Linked DNA regions of Homo sapiens: region 2 is linked to region 1. The links are contacts of gene promoters, found by promoter capture Hi-C in blood cells and fetal thymus (Javierre and others, 2016). All regions are on one chromosome and are shown on one strand. The core of a region is centred on a gene start or on the middle of the fragment in contact, and the rest is flanking DNA. Distances in the headings are between cores, read along the strand shown. Region 1 holds the start of UBE2E2 (ubiquitin conjugating enzyme E2 E2). Region 2 has its middle 81 kb from the start of UBE2E1.

Region 1 (6,483 bases), core at 1,442-3,941:
GGAAAAAACGTAGGCTCTAAATTAATGATCAGAAATAAGAAATGTAAGAAAGGAGTGAGTTCATGACGACAGACTGATGGACCAGAGCAGAAAATATAAGGAAGATGAGCTATTTGTCTTGGAGACCAAGTTTGCACCGCAGAAGAGAGAAATAGAGAAAATCAAATAAATATTTATGTCTGTAACACCAGACTCATGGTAAAGTGTCCTTAAGTTCACAGACTCCAGAGCCAAACTGCTGATTTCGAGTCCCAGCTCTGCTCCTCACTAGCTATGTGACTGTAGGTGAGTGACTTAATCCCTCCGTACCTCAGTATTCTCATCTGTACAGTGGGGCTGATTGGATAAAACCAACCTGTGTGGTGGTTGTGACCTAGTATAACTAAAGTGCTTAGCATGCTGCCTAGCACAAATTAAGAACACGGTAAGTACTAATTATTGAAGAAATTAGAAACAATACCTATTGTGTCATCAACTGAAAGAGACCAATTTCTTTCACTCGGTCATTATCTATTGAATATATACAGCACTGAACCCCAGACGACGAAATCCTTTTTCTCAAGGTGCTTTTACGTGGGAGGGCTGGGAGAGGGAGGAAAAAGAAAGCAGAAGGGGGAAACTAATAAATAAGTAAAAAAATGTATTATGTCAGGTGGTGATCATGGAGAAAAAGCAGAGGATGTGGATAGGAAGTTCTGGGGGAGGAGTGGGAGGAAAGAATGTTCTAGAGATAGGAAATAGTAAGTACACAGGTCTTGAGGCTGAGGAATGCTTGGTGTGTCCATAACTGCAAGGCCGGTGTGGCTGGAAGGAGACGAGGATGGAGTGAAATCGTACAGCTTGAGGTCAGGGGAATCCTGGCTGGGAATGGTGGGCACATCATGCAGGCCATGTATCCATATTTTGCACTTTGGCTGTTGCTCTATGATGGGAAGCCACTGGAATTTTTGAGAAGAAGAGAGACATAATCTAATCTTTGTTTTAAAGGACAGTCGGCTGTGTGTAGGTGTTGGGGAGGGAGGAGGCGGAGAGTGGGAGGTAGAAAGATCAGGTAGGAGATAATTATTGAGAGATGATGCCTTAGACCAGGACATTAGCAGTGGGGAGGGGAGTGAGACGGAGTGGACATTTTCACCATATATTTGTGAAAACAGAGTCAACAGAATTTGCTGACGAATGTGATGCTGAGTGTACAACAGAGAAGGTTCAGACATAGGGAAGTTCTGAGGACAAGGATTTTTTTCTTTTATTCAATGTCATATATCTACCACCTAGACAGTGCCTGGTATCAATAAATATTCCTTGAATAAATGAAAAGGGTAACTGATTTGTATTAAACCCATTTTGAACTTAGTAAATAGCAGTTAAAACATCTACAGTCAAATGAAGTACTGTAGCAACCATAATTTCAGCAATTAAGCAGTGAAAGATCTTCCAATCCTTTCCTCCACAAAGATAGAAGTTAATTTTGCTGCATCCCTGGACACCCCGTTGCCAACGACCCAGCATTCCGTTGGTAAGTGAGGCTGGAGGTTGGAGTGGGAGAAATTTCGTGGAAGCTAAGTTCGCAAAGCAGGTACGTTTTTTTTTTTTTTTTAAACGGTTATTTGGGATGAGGAGTACAACGGAACCTAATGTTCCCTCATGCCACCTACAGCACTGCTACTGTTCCCATATCCTTCAACTGGGCATGAAGGCAGCTTCCCACTCACTCTGACAGTGGTGCACCCTGTACCCCCACCCCTCTCTTCAATACCCCAGGGCTAAACGGCCCGAAGCTCCTCTCTACCGGCTGGTGCGCATTCTGGGCCAGGGCGAGCCAAAAGGCAGAAGGGCCTTCGTGCTGCAGTGTCTGGTGAAGACTCAGGCTTAGCCTGGAAGAAGTTTCCAGGCCAACGTGAAGTTTTCCTGTCTTGGGTACATGCGAGCCCCACGCGTCTGCGAGTTTGGGTTAGTGTGTCAACAGGGTCAGTCCCCGTATCTACTTTGCGAAAGCTTCGAGGCGAGCGTGAAGTCAAGGGCTGCGGTGGATGGGGGTAAAAGGCCTCCTCGTCCCACTGCCTGCACCGTCTTGGGGTAACCCCTAACCCCCAGCCGGCGTTTCCCTTTAATGCGCGTGCCCGGCAAGGTCCTCGCGTCCCCTCCCCTCAAGCCACCCCGTCAGCCTCGGTTTCCCCCACTTCTCCCCGTCCTTGTCGTTCCTTCCCCGTGGGACGCCCCTCGCTCACCCCCGTCAGAGCCCAGTCTGCGCGCGGGACCCAGCTGTCACTTTACTTTTCCTCGCCGCCTCCCCACCCCCTCTCCCGACCGGCGGGGCAGCCCGCCCGGGCGCGCTCCCGCCCCCGCCCCCTCGCGGCCGCGCGCCGGAGGAGGAGGGGCGGGGGGAGGAGGGAGGCGCGCGGCGCCGCATGGCCGACGTGGGGCTCGCGCTCTCGCGGTCTCTCCCGGGCGGGCGCGCAGGCACGCGCACTCGCGGGTGCGCGCGCGGACGGCCGGGCGGCGGCGGCTCCCGGAGGTGGTGGCTTCACTTTCCAGGACTCAGGGGCAGCCACAGCGACAGCCGCGGGCAGCAGCCTCAGGAGCCGGAGCTGGAACGGCCGGGGGCGGCGGCAGCGGCGGCGCTGAGGGTGAGTCCGGGCGGGCGCGAGCGCGGCGGGGACAGGCGTGGTCGGGTGCGTGGTGCGTGGGTCCGGCTTTCGGTGACTAGACGGTCCGCAGGGGACATCCCGTCCCTGGGGCCTCCCCAGTCTCCCTCCCCCTCGCGCCTGGGCAGCTCTCTCCCAGGGCTTCGGCTCGAGCCTGCGACCTGCACGGACACCCCCCCCTCAGGTATTCGCTCGGGCCGCGCCGGTGCCTCCCCTCCTCGGGCGTCCTCCCTCTCGCTGACGTCCTCCTCACTCCCCCGACCTCCCCTCCGCGTCGCAGGTCTCTGCTTACACCGCTCGTGCCCTAGTTCCCTCCTTCCTCGCTCCCCGTGCCCGGTTCCCTACGCCCCCTCCCGCGAGCCTCCTGCCCCCGTTTCTCGCCCTTTCTACCCCTCCCCCTTCTTCCCATCCCCCCCTTCTGCCTCTTCTCTCCCTGTCCTCCTTCTACCCCCTTCCGTTCTCAGTTCCCCATCCTTCTCAACCCTCCCAGCGCTTTCCTTCTCCTAGCCGCATCCTGGAACTAAGTCTTTTCAAAAGTACAGGATAAATGTCACGGTGGAAAGTGCCCGGCTTGATCTTTTGCTATTTTCCCTAATTGCATAATTGCTGCACATGGTGTGTCTCCTGGCGAGTGCCGGGTTTGGCTCCTTCGCCGCCGCACCCCGGTGGCCCGCCCGGAGAAGACCTTGTGGGGTATATTTGTGTGTGTCCTGGTGAGGGGTGTGTGTTGTATTGGTCTTTTGTGATGCCTGGCGCTTGTCACAGTTTGGAACCGAAGCCCATTTTTCTCTGGTCTCTTCTCTGCAGCCCCCACTGGCCTGGTTTGAAACTGGATTCCCTCTGTCCTCTCCCCCTTCCCGCCCACCCCACTTCTCCCCCTCTTTTCTCCGATCTCTCTCATAATGTTTTGATCTTTTTGCCCTTTACCATTTCTAATGAAGATAAAGCGTGGCTTCTTGTGGCTTTTTTCCCCCACGACCAACCAGAAATGTCCAATCCATCTTCCCTTAAGGAAATTAAGGCTGCTTTAGAAAGACATCATCCTGTGCTCGGTGGCTGTTAGACCCATTTGCATGTTTTCAAGATTCATCGTTTTGTATTGTGTATTCTTGAGAGTCTACTAAAATATTTTTATTTAAAAGTACGAAAGGAAGTGCTAGGGTTTACCCTCAAAGTATCTCGCGGTTCTAAAGGATTTTACGCTCTTCTTAGTTTTTAATCCCTGATTTCTTTAAAAAGTATGTTTCTAGATATGTGATAATTCAGTCTGGACTTTGTGAATCTAAATATTTGCCTTTACTACGGCAATTTGGATGCTCCTTGGCTCTTTGGAATTCTGTATGTGGGCTGACGCTGAAATAGAGTGTTTTCATATAATGCCATACCCCATTCTCTTTCCCCTGCAGCACCTTTTACCCCCAAATCAGGTGTTCCACTGTTATTTTCTGCATAAATGTCTTTGCAGTTAAATTTAAAGCTGGATATTGCTGTGTGCATATACTATATATTTATTTTACATTTTAGAAAAGTTTAGAAACATGAGTAGGAAGACAGCAAGACATATATGACAGAATTAAACGCTTTCCTGTTATAAAAGCTTAAATGAACACTTGGTTTTGCAGTTTTATACTAGTAGATACTGTTATAAGGCTTACCTGGGTAGTAGGCTGGATTTATGGAATGACTATAGTTGCCTTTATGTAGTCAGTAATATTTCAAGCCAAATCATTTCATTTTTATGGAACATGTGAGTTTCATTCACTGTATGTTGCTAATTTCCAGGACTGTAATTACAACATAGGGTACATAGCTAATACAAGCTTAGACAGTTTGTGTTGAAGAAGTAACAATATGTAAGCCTCTTAATATAGTTTTAGGAAGGACTACTTATTTTATGGTTAAAAATTAAATTTTACTTTGAGTTATGAAGTAAGCGTATTTATCTCTCTCAATATCTTTGAAAGTATCATTGGAGAGTAGCTGTTTGTTTATAACCCTGGGATTTAAGTTTATCTTCCCTGTAGATGAGATAATCGGATCAGATTAGCTATTTAGGAATTAATTTTAAAATGCTAATTTAGAAGATAATGTTTAAAGGATTTTAATTCAGGAATTTTTATTCATTTGTACTTCAGAGAGACAAGACATCAAGTTTACACTTACGACTAATTAAATTGATTCATAGACTACTTTTTCTTCATAAAAATTCGTTGCACCTGAGTGGTACAATAATTTTTTTCTATACTTTTTCTGTAATCAAGCATTCAAAAAACAAACCCAGGAGAAATTCCTTTTATTATTGATATTTGAAAAAGAGATGTGAAAACTTTATTTCTAAAAGTTCCTATAGTGGTTATCAATGGCCTCAGATGGACTTATCATTTGTAGGTTAACATTTGGATGAAATATGTCTTAACTCAAAAGTGGGAATAATTCTTTTCCTTAATGTGAAACCAGAAATTACACCTCTGTTGGGGAATTTCTAATAGTATTTTTATTAGTTCTCTGGTGAGACTAATTTTTATTTTAATCTTCCTCTAATATTCGGCAGTAGAAATTTGAGTTTCAGATTATGGCTCAGATCACATCATTGAGTAATCTTTTTAAGTAATTATATAACTATGGCATTCGATAGTATGTAAATGCACATAAATAAGAATATTGAGAAGAATGTGTGGCTTTATAACTAATGTTATACACAACTGAAACTCTCAGCATAGTTTATTAAATCATAGTTTATTACGCTGAAGCTGCATCCTCAGTATAGAGAATATTATTTCATTGAGGTACCCATATATTTGTCATGGAATGGATTGCTCCTGTTTTAAAATGTATAAAATGATTTCTCACTCATTTCACATTTCTTAAGGTATTGCTGGCAGCATTTTGCTATATCTGAGCACCTTTCCCTGAGGATTGTTCTCTTTTTCACTCTCATGCATGCCGCCCTATCTGATATGCCATTATGTACATACTTACAAGATTTTAAACTTCTGATATATTTTAACTGAAAGAAGGTGAAAAAAAATATTAAATCCAAGAATGAGAATTTAGAGTGAAATAAAAATGAAAAAAAGCAAGAAATATGTTACGACTTTTAGAGCTAGATGTGAAACATACTGATATAAAATTTCAGTGTTCTATTAAGTGACTTTAGTGCTCATAAAAGATGTCACAGCTGTGGAGACTGGTGCTCTTCATTTACAGAATAGGTAGAAAAGTAGTCAGCTTTTCCGTTAGTATGTTTCAGAGCTGTTGGGGCAGATCTGTTTCTGTTTGGCATGGGGAGCTGTTGGGGTTGAAGGGGTGCTGGTGGTGGTGTGTGTGGTGTGTCAGTGAAAGGATTCACTATTTTCTGTTGACTCTTTGTGGCTCTGTGCTTCCTGATGCTTCCATTCTTTTGCAGTGCTTTTTGGTTTGTCTTACAAAAATTTCAGTCCATTAAAGATCGGTGTTACAACATTGCTTTGGCTTAGAGCAAGCTACAAGTTAAATCTTTAGTGATGATGAATTTTCATCAGTGTCAAATAGCTATCCATTTGGACTAAGTTATAGTAATTAAAAAATTTTGCTTTATTTGAGGTATCTTTACCTGTTCTTATTCTTGATCATATCAGAAACAGTTTTATTTCAAGTTGTAATTTGATTAAGAGTAATCAAAAGGATCCATTTCAAAAGGAATTTGTTCAGTGTACCTATAATTTTTAAAGATATATTTTTTGCTGTTAATGGTACTTATTAAGTATAGGTATTTTGTTTTTAAAAAGGTGTCTGAGAAGATAGCTATACAGTGCTGAAAGTGATTATTAGGTGACAAAACCATGGGGAGCACAAGGCC
Region 2 (6,483 bases), core at 2,678-5,177, 520 kb after region 1:
GAGAGGCTGAGGTGGGAGAATCACTTGAGCCTAGGAGGCTGCAGGTTGCAGTGAGCTGAGATCACGCCATTGTACTCCAGCCTGGGAGACAGAATGAGACCCTGCCTCAAAAAAAAAAAAAAAAAAAATTAAAGGGTGAGGTGCTGGGGAAGTCTGCAGCATTGTTTTCCAATTGTTAATATGTTCCATTAATTTTCCCAAGGTGTTCAAAATGAGTTTCTAGATGCTATGCCTACATGCAGTGTACAAATTACAGTGTTTAGGGGAATGTTGACATTTGTTATACTAGTTGTGTGACACTTCTCAGTGAGTAAACTCATCTAATCATTTGTAAATCTCAGAACTGTTGACTTCTGTATTCAGAAACAATTTATTTATTAACTCTGAAAAATGTTCAGTTGTTTTCAGAGAAGAGTTCAGTCTTATATGTAATTATTCTGGAGAAGAGCAACATTTCTTTAAAATGTTTGATACAAGGCCGGGCGCAGTGGCTCACGCCTGTAATCCCAGCACTTTGGGAGGCCGAGGTGGGTGGATCACGAGGTCAGGAGATCGAGACCATCCTGGCTAGCACGGTGAAACCCCTTCTCTACTAAAAATACAAAAAATTAGCCGGGAGCGGTGGCGGGCGCCTGTAGTCCCAGCTACTCGGGAGGCTGAGGCGGGAGAATGCCGTGAACCCGGGAGGCGGAGCTTGCAGTGAGCGGAGATCGCGCCACTGCACTCCAGCCTGGGTGACAGAGAGAGACTCCGTCTCAAAAAAAAAAAAAAAAAAAAAAAAAAAAAAAAAAAAATGTTTGATACAAATATCAAATGATTCTCCAAATATATGTTGGAGAATATAATTTCCCTTTGAAAATGTTTTCTGAAGACTGGAAAATTAACTTGCATAATGTCTCCATCCAACAAGTCATTAATTTACAGCCTTCCAAACACGTTTGTCTGAATCTTAAAAGTAACTGGTTAACTTTCATTTTTCCTCTCATAACTGTGACAAAATCCCTACTCGTGGCTACCAATGGCTGGAGGATGCACTTCATACATTTCTCAGAGTCTACATGTATTTAGATCTACACAGAAAAATTGAAAGATCCCAAATTTTATTTCCGTGTAATACCACAAAGCTTCTTTTGGGTGAAACAGTGCTTTTTCTGGTGGTCCTCTTGTAAGTGCAAATTTGCCTGAGAGACTGTGTAAGCAGATTGCTGTCCTACCAGTTTGCTTTCCTTAGCAATGTCCAGGATGACAGATGGACAGGGCCTCGCTGCTTCATGGATTATTGTCAGTGAACAAAGGAGAAAAGGCAAACTTTGGCTTATGAATCAACTGGCTGCATGAAACAGGAAAACCTAAGAATTACCAAAAATAATAGTAGCCTCTTTCTTCCTTCTCTAAAGAAAGTTTCGAGGCAGGCATGCCGGGAGCGGTGGCTCAAGCCTGTAATCCCAGCACTTTGGGAGGCCAAGGTGGGCGGATCACCTGAGGTCGGGAGTTCGAGACCAACCTGACCAACATGGGGAAACCCTTTCTCTACTAAAAATACAAAAATTAGCTGAGTGTGGTGGCATGTGCCTGTAATCCCAGCTACTCGGGAGGTTGAGGCAGGAGAATCGCTTGAACCCGGGAGGTGGAGGTTGTGGTAAGCCAAGATCGCACCACTGCACTCCAGCCTAGGCAACAAGAGCGAGACTCTGTCTCAAAAAAAAGAAAAAGAAAGTAAGTTTGGAGGCAGGCATCCAGGGTTGGTGGGACCTAGGTTTCATCAGTCTTTCTGCTGCTGCATTCTAGCATATGGCTTCCATCCTTCAGATTGCTTCATGGTCCAAAATGGGCTTCTGGAGTTATAAGCCAGAAAAAGAAGGAAAGTAAAGAAAAAGAGAGGCCTTCCATGCTAAGTTAGCTCTCTTTAGACTGCCTTCCTGAAAGGCCCACTGAATTCAGCTTTCTGGGCCACAAGTCACATGGTCATATCTAGCAGCAAGGGAGGCTGGGAGATTAATATTTTATTTTTGGTCACAATGTGGCTAGCAAGTAAAGAGGAAGTAAGGAGAAGTAGAGAAGTGATACTGGAAGTAGCCACTAACCATCTCTGCATCTGGCAAGACATGAAGGCAGGACTAGCCTTGGAACAATGTCTGGGGCTCAAGTTTTTCTAGGCCCTTAAGAGAATGCTTGCTCCAACTAGGCTTTTCTGCTCTGTTTAGGCTTTTTCTGGGTAGAGGGCAATCCTAAGGACTGGAATAGCCTAGTTCTCACAACTGTGTTTATTTGTCCAGAAGCCTCAGGCCCAAAATCAATAAAAATGCACAAGGATCCACTGAGCACACTTCATATGGGCTGCACTGATGTAGACATAACAGTGGAGCCAGGGTGATGGGAAGCTCTTTCCTGAGTGGCTTTCAAGCTAAGAGGGTAGCTTAGAACCATGTTTCTCAAACTACTTTCTTCCAGTTTATAGCAGACCACTATGTGTTCCTACTGTGATAACCATAGGAGTTCAGCAATACCCAGCCTCGTCTATTTCTTGTTCAAAAAGATGAGTCCTCTAATCATACACTTGGGTGTCACAATGTCAACTTGCTATATATATTTTATATATATATATATATATATATATGTTCTATATGCCTGTTCTCAGTTTCTCGGGGGAAAGGATCAACCTCATCCATTTGGGCGGCTATAACAAAAATACTATAAACTGAGTGGCTTATAAACAATATTTATTGCTTACAGTTCTGGAGGCTGGGAGTCCAAGATCAAGGCACTGGCAGATTCGGGTGTCTTGTTCATAGATGGCGCCTTCTTGCTGCGTCCTCATGGGGAAGAAGGGGGTCTCACTCTGTTGAGGGCACTACTCCCATCATAAGGACTCTGCCTGTGGGATCTAATCATCTCTTAAAGGCCCCACTTTCTAATATTACTGCACTGGGGGATAGGTTTCAACATACGCATTTTTCAGGGGGGGACATTCAGACCACAGCTCCCATTGAAACAAACTCCTCAAACTTTTCTAACTTTTCACTTGTGGTTTCAAATGACGTTCGAGACCTGTGGGTGTCAGGTGGAGCCTGAAGTCAATTTGTTATACAGACATGTTTTCATTATAATGATATTGGTGGGAAGACACTGTGCATCAGTTGATGATAAGAAAAAATCACATTTTAAAAAAAAGTTTAATTGAGTTATAATTTACATATACTAAAATGCATAGCTTTTGAATGTATATTTTGATGGCTTTTGATATATATGCTTGAGTAATCATCTCCTTAATCAAGACAGGTAAGCAAGGACCAGGCTGGGGGCTCATGCCTGTTACCCAACACTTTGAAGGGCAGAGGCAGGAAGATTGCTTGAGGCCAGGCCTTGAAGACAAGCCTGGGCAACATAGTGAGACCCTGTCTCTACAAAAACATTTAAAAATTAGCCTGCTGGTGGTGTTCATCTTTAGTTTTAGCTGCTCTGAAGGTTGAGGTGGGAGGATCACTTGAGCCCAAGAGCTTGAGGTTACAATGAACTTGATTGTGACACTGCACTCCAGCTTGGGCAACAGAGCAGGACCCTGTCTCTAAAAAAAGAAAGAAAAAGGCCAGGTATGGTGGCTCACACCTGTTATCCCAGCATTTTGGGAGGCCGAGGTGGGCAAATCACGAGGTTACGAGTTCAAAACCAGCCTGGTCAACATGGCGAAACCCCATTTCTACTAAAAATACAAAAATTAGCCAGGTGTGGTGGTGCACACCTGTTATCCCAGATACTTGGGAGGTTGAGGCAGGAGAATTGCTTGAACCTGGGAGGCGGAGGTTTCAGTGAGCCGAGATCACGCCACTGCACTCCAACCTGGGCAACAGAGCAAGACTCCTTCTCGAAAAAAAGTTTTAAAAAGAAATAAAGAGAGAGAGAGGAGGGAGGGAGGGGAGGGAGAGAGGGAGGGAGAGAAAGAGAGAGAGGAAGGAAGGAAAGGAAGGGAAGGGAAAGGGAAAGGGAAAGGAAAGAGAAGGAAAGGAAAGACCCGGCCAGGCACGGTGGCTCACGCCTGTAATCCCAGCACTCTGGGGGGCTGAGGTGGGTGAATCACGAGGTCAGGAGTTCACAACCAGCCTGACCAACATGGTGAAACCCCATCTCTACTAAAAATACAAAAATTAGTTGGGCATGGTGGTGCATGCCCGTAATCCCAGCTACTCAGAAGGCTGAGGCAGGAGAATTGCTTGAACCCGGGAGGCAGAGCTTGCAGTGAGCTGAGATTGCAGCACTGCACTCCAGCCTGGGTGACAGAGCAAGACTCTGTCAAAGAAACAAAAGAAAAGAAGAGAAAGGAAGACAGAAAGAAAGAAAGGAAGGAAGGAAGGAAGGAAGGAAGGAAGGAAGGAAGGAAGGAAGGAAGAAAGAAAGAAAGAAAGAAAGAAAGAAAGAAAGAAAGAAAAAAGAAAGAAAAGAAGGAGGAAGGGAGGGAGGAAAGAAGGAAGGAAGGAAAGAAGGAAGGAAGATATGGAAGCAGAATGGTGGCCATGATAGCCAGAATCTGCTAAGGAGTATGTAATAGATCACTTGCCAAAAAGAGATAGGGAATACTCCATCACCCCAGAAAGCACCTTGATGTCCCTCTTTAGGCATCTCTCCTGAACTTGTGTGTCTGCTCCTGAGGCAGCCAGAGGTACCCACTGTTCTCAATTCTGTCGCCATGGCTTGCTCAGGTTTTTTCCAGAACTTCTAGAACTTCCCTAGAATTTCATATAAGTAAAATTGCAGTTTGCAATCAACAAACTCTTTTTTTCTTTCTTTTAAAAGATGGGGGTGTCACTATGTTGTCCAAACTGGACTTGAACTCCTAGCTCAGGGGATCCGCCCTCCTGAGTACCTGAGACTACAGGTATGCACCACCACACCCAGCCTCACCAAACTCCTTTGGTTCCGGTTTCTTTCATTCAACATAATGTTTTTGAAAATCATTCATGTTTCTATATGAGTAGTTGATTTTTGTTTTGATTGCTGAGTAAAATTTCATTGTATGAAACACCGCACCACAACTTGTTAACCCACAAATAGTGCCTTGCATGTATTGAAACTTCACTATTGCCAGACACTGTGTTAAGCACTTCCCAATGTCTCATAACCACCAGAGGAAAGGTGTTGTGATGGCCCTTTGTGGAGGTTTTGCCTTCTTCTGTTCAGTATCAGATCTCAGTCTTATTAGCAGCTGGATCTGTCTTCCTGTGTGGTTTTGGTGCAAAGTAAAATGCAAGAAATTAGATCCTCCTTCTTGATGGGAGTGACCTTGGCCTGGCCAGTCTGATGCTGTCTTCAGGAACTCTGGAAGCTAAGTGAGTGACATAAGGACCCAATGCAGGGGGAACTGCAGGGCACAAAGAAGATTCTTTCTGCCACGTGACCTCTGCCGTGACTCCTGCCTGGCCTTCTGAGCAGCCTAGCTTCCTGCCAGTTTTCTACTCCTCCAGGCTTCCCTCAGTTCCAATAATTTCTTTTTTTTTTTTTTTTTTTTTGAGACAGAATCTCTCTCTGTTGCCAAGGCTGGAGTGCAGTGGCGTGATCTCAGCTTACTGCAACCTCTGTCTCCCAGGTTCAAGCAATTCTCCTGCCTTAGCCTCCTGGGTAGCTGGGATTACAGGCATGCACCACCACACCCGGCTAATTTTTGTATTTTTAGTACAGACAGGGTTGCGCCATGTTGGCCAGGTTGGTCTTGAACTCCTAACTTTGCGATCCACCCGCCTCGGCCTCCCAAAGTGCTGGAATTACAGGCGTGAGCCACTGCGCCCAGCCTCCCTTTTTGTTTAATGTAGGCAGACTTGGTTTCTGTACTTGCATACTAGGCCATTACTGATATACTAGGTATTATCCCCATTGTACAGATTAAAAAATAAAGCCCAGGGTCAGTGTGGTCAGTGACTCTCCTGGGGTCATACAAGCTACTAGGTAGCAGGATAAATAAGGATTAGAACCAGGCCGGGCATGGTGGCTCATGCCTGTAATCCCAGCACTTTGGGAGGAGGAGGCAGGAGGATAGCTTGAGCACAGGAGTTTGAGACCACCCTGGCAAAAATGGAAAAACCGTGTTTCTATTAAAAATACAAAAATTAGCTGGGCATGGTGGTGCGTGCCTGTAATTCCAGCTACTTGGGAGGCTAAGATGAGAGGATCACCTGAGTGTGGGAGGCGGAGGTTGCAGTGAGCCAAGATTGCACCACTGCACTCCAGCCTGGGAGACAGAGTAAGACCTTGTTTCAAAACAAAAAACAAACAAACAAAAAAAAAACACAGATTAGAAGCAGTCAGTCTTACTCCATGCAAAGGGAGAGGCAACATCACAACTGACACTGATAACCCTGGCCTCACTCCAGTGCTGTGACTTTGTCCCCATCCTTTTGCACCCAGGGGACAACATGGGCATGCTGGCATGAGGAGAAATGCACAGATCCCTTTCACAGCTGTCCGCTTCTCCCAACAAGGCCAACCAGGGAGCTT

Evidence for each region. Contacts are between HindIII fragments. The CHiCAGO score rates a contact against its expected background, and 5 or more counts as called.
Region 2: a fragment that was not itself captured here is called in contact with the fragment with the promoter of UBE2E2 in region 1 in 4 of 17 cell types (endothelial precursors, M2 macrophages, fetal thymus and 1 more); the score reaches 6.4 in endothelial precursors.

Annotation. Positions count from the first base shown.
Region 1 is chr3:23,200,636-23,207,118 of GRCh38, forward strand. It overlaps UBE2E2 (ubiquitin conjugating enzyme E2 E2), which reads left to right and starts at 2,692. Exons shown (of 6, transcript NM_152653.4): 1 at 2,692-2,829. UBE2E2-DT (UBE2E2 divergent transcript) reads right to left here and starts at 2,358. Exons shown (of 2, transcript NR_136176.1): 1 at 2,229-2,358. RefSeq lists enhancers at 1,365-2,340, 1,753-1,812 and a silencer at 2,163-2,852. The HindIII fragment of the contact is 2,247 bases long and covers 1,994-4,240 here.
Region 2 is chr3:23,722,107-23,728,589 of GRCh38, forward strand. No RefSeq gene overlaps it. Among named protein-coding and RNA genes, the nearest start is that of UBE2E1, 81 kb to the right of the region's middle. The HindIII fragment of the contact is 5,611 bases long and covers 1,123-6,483 here.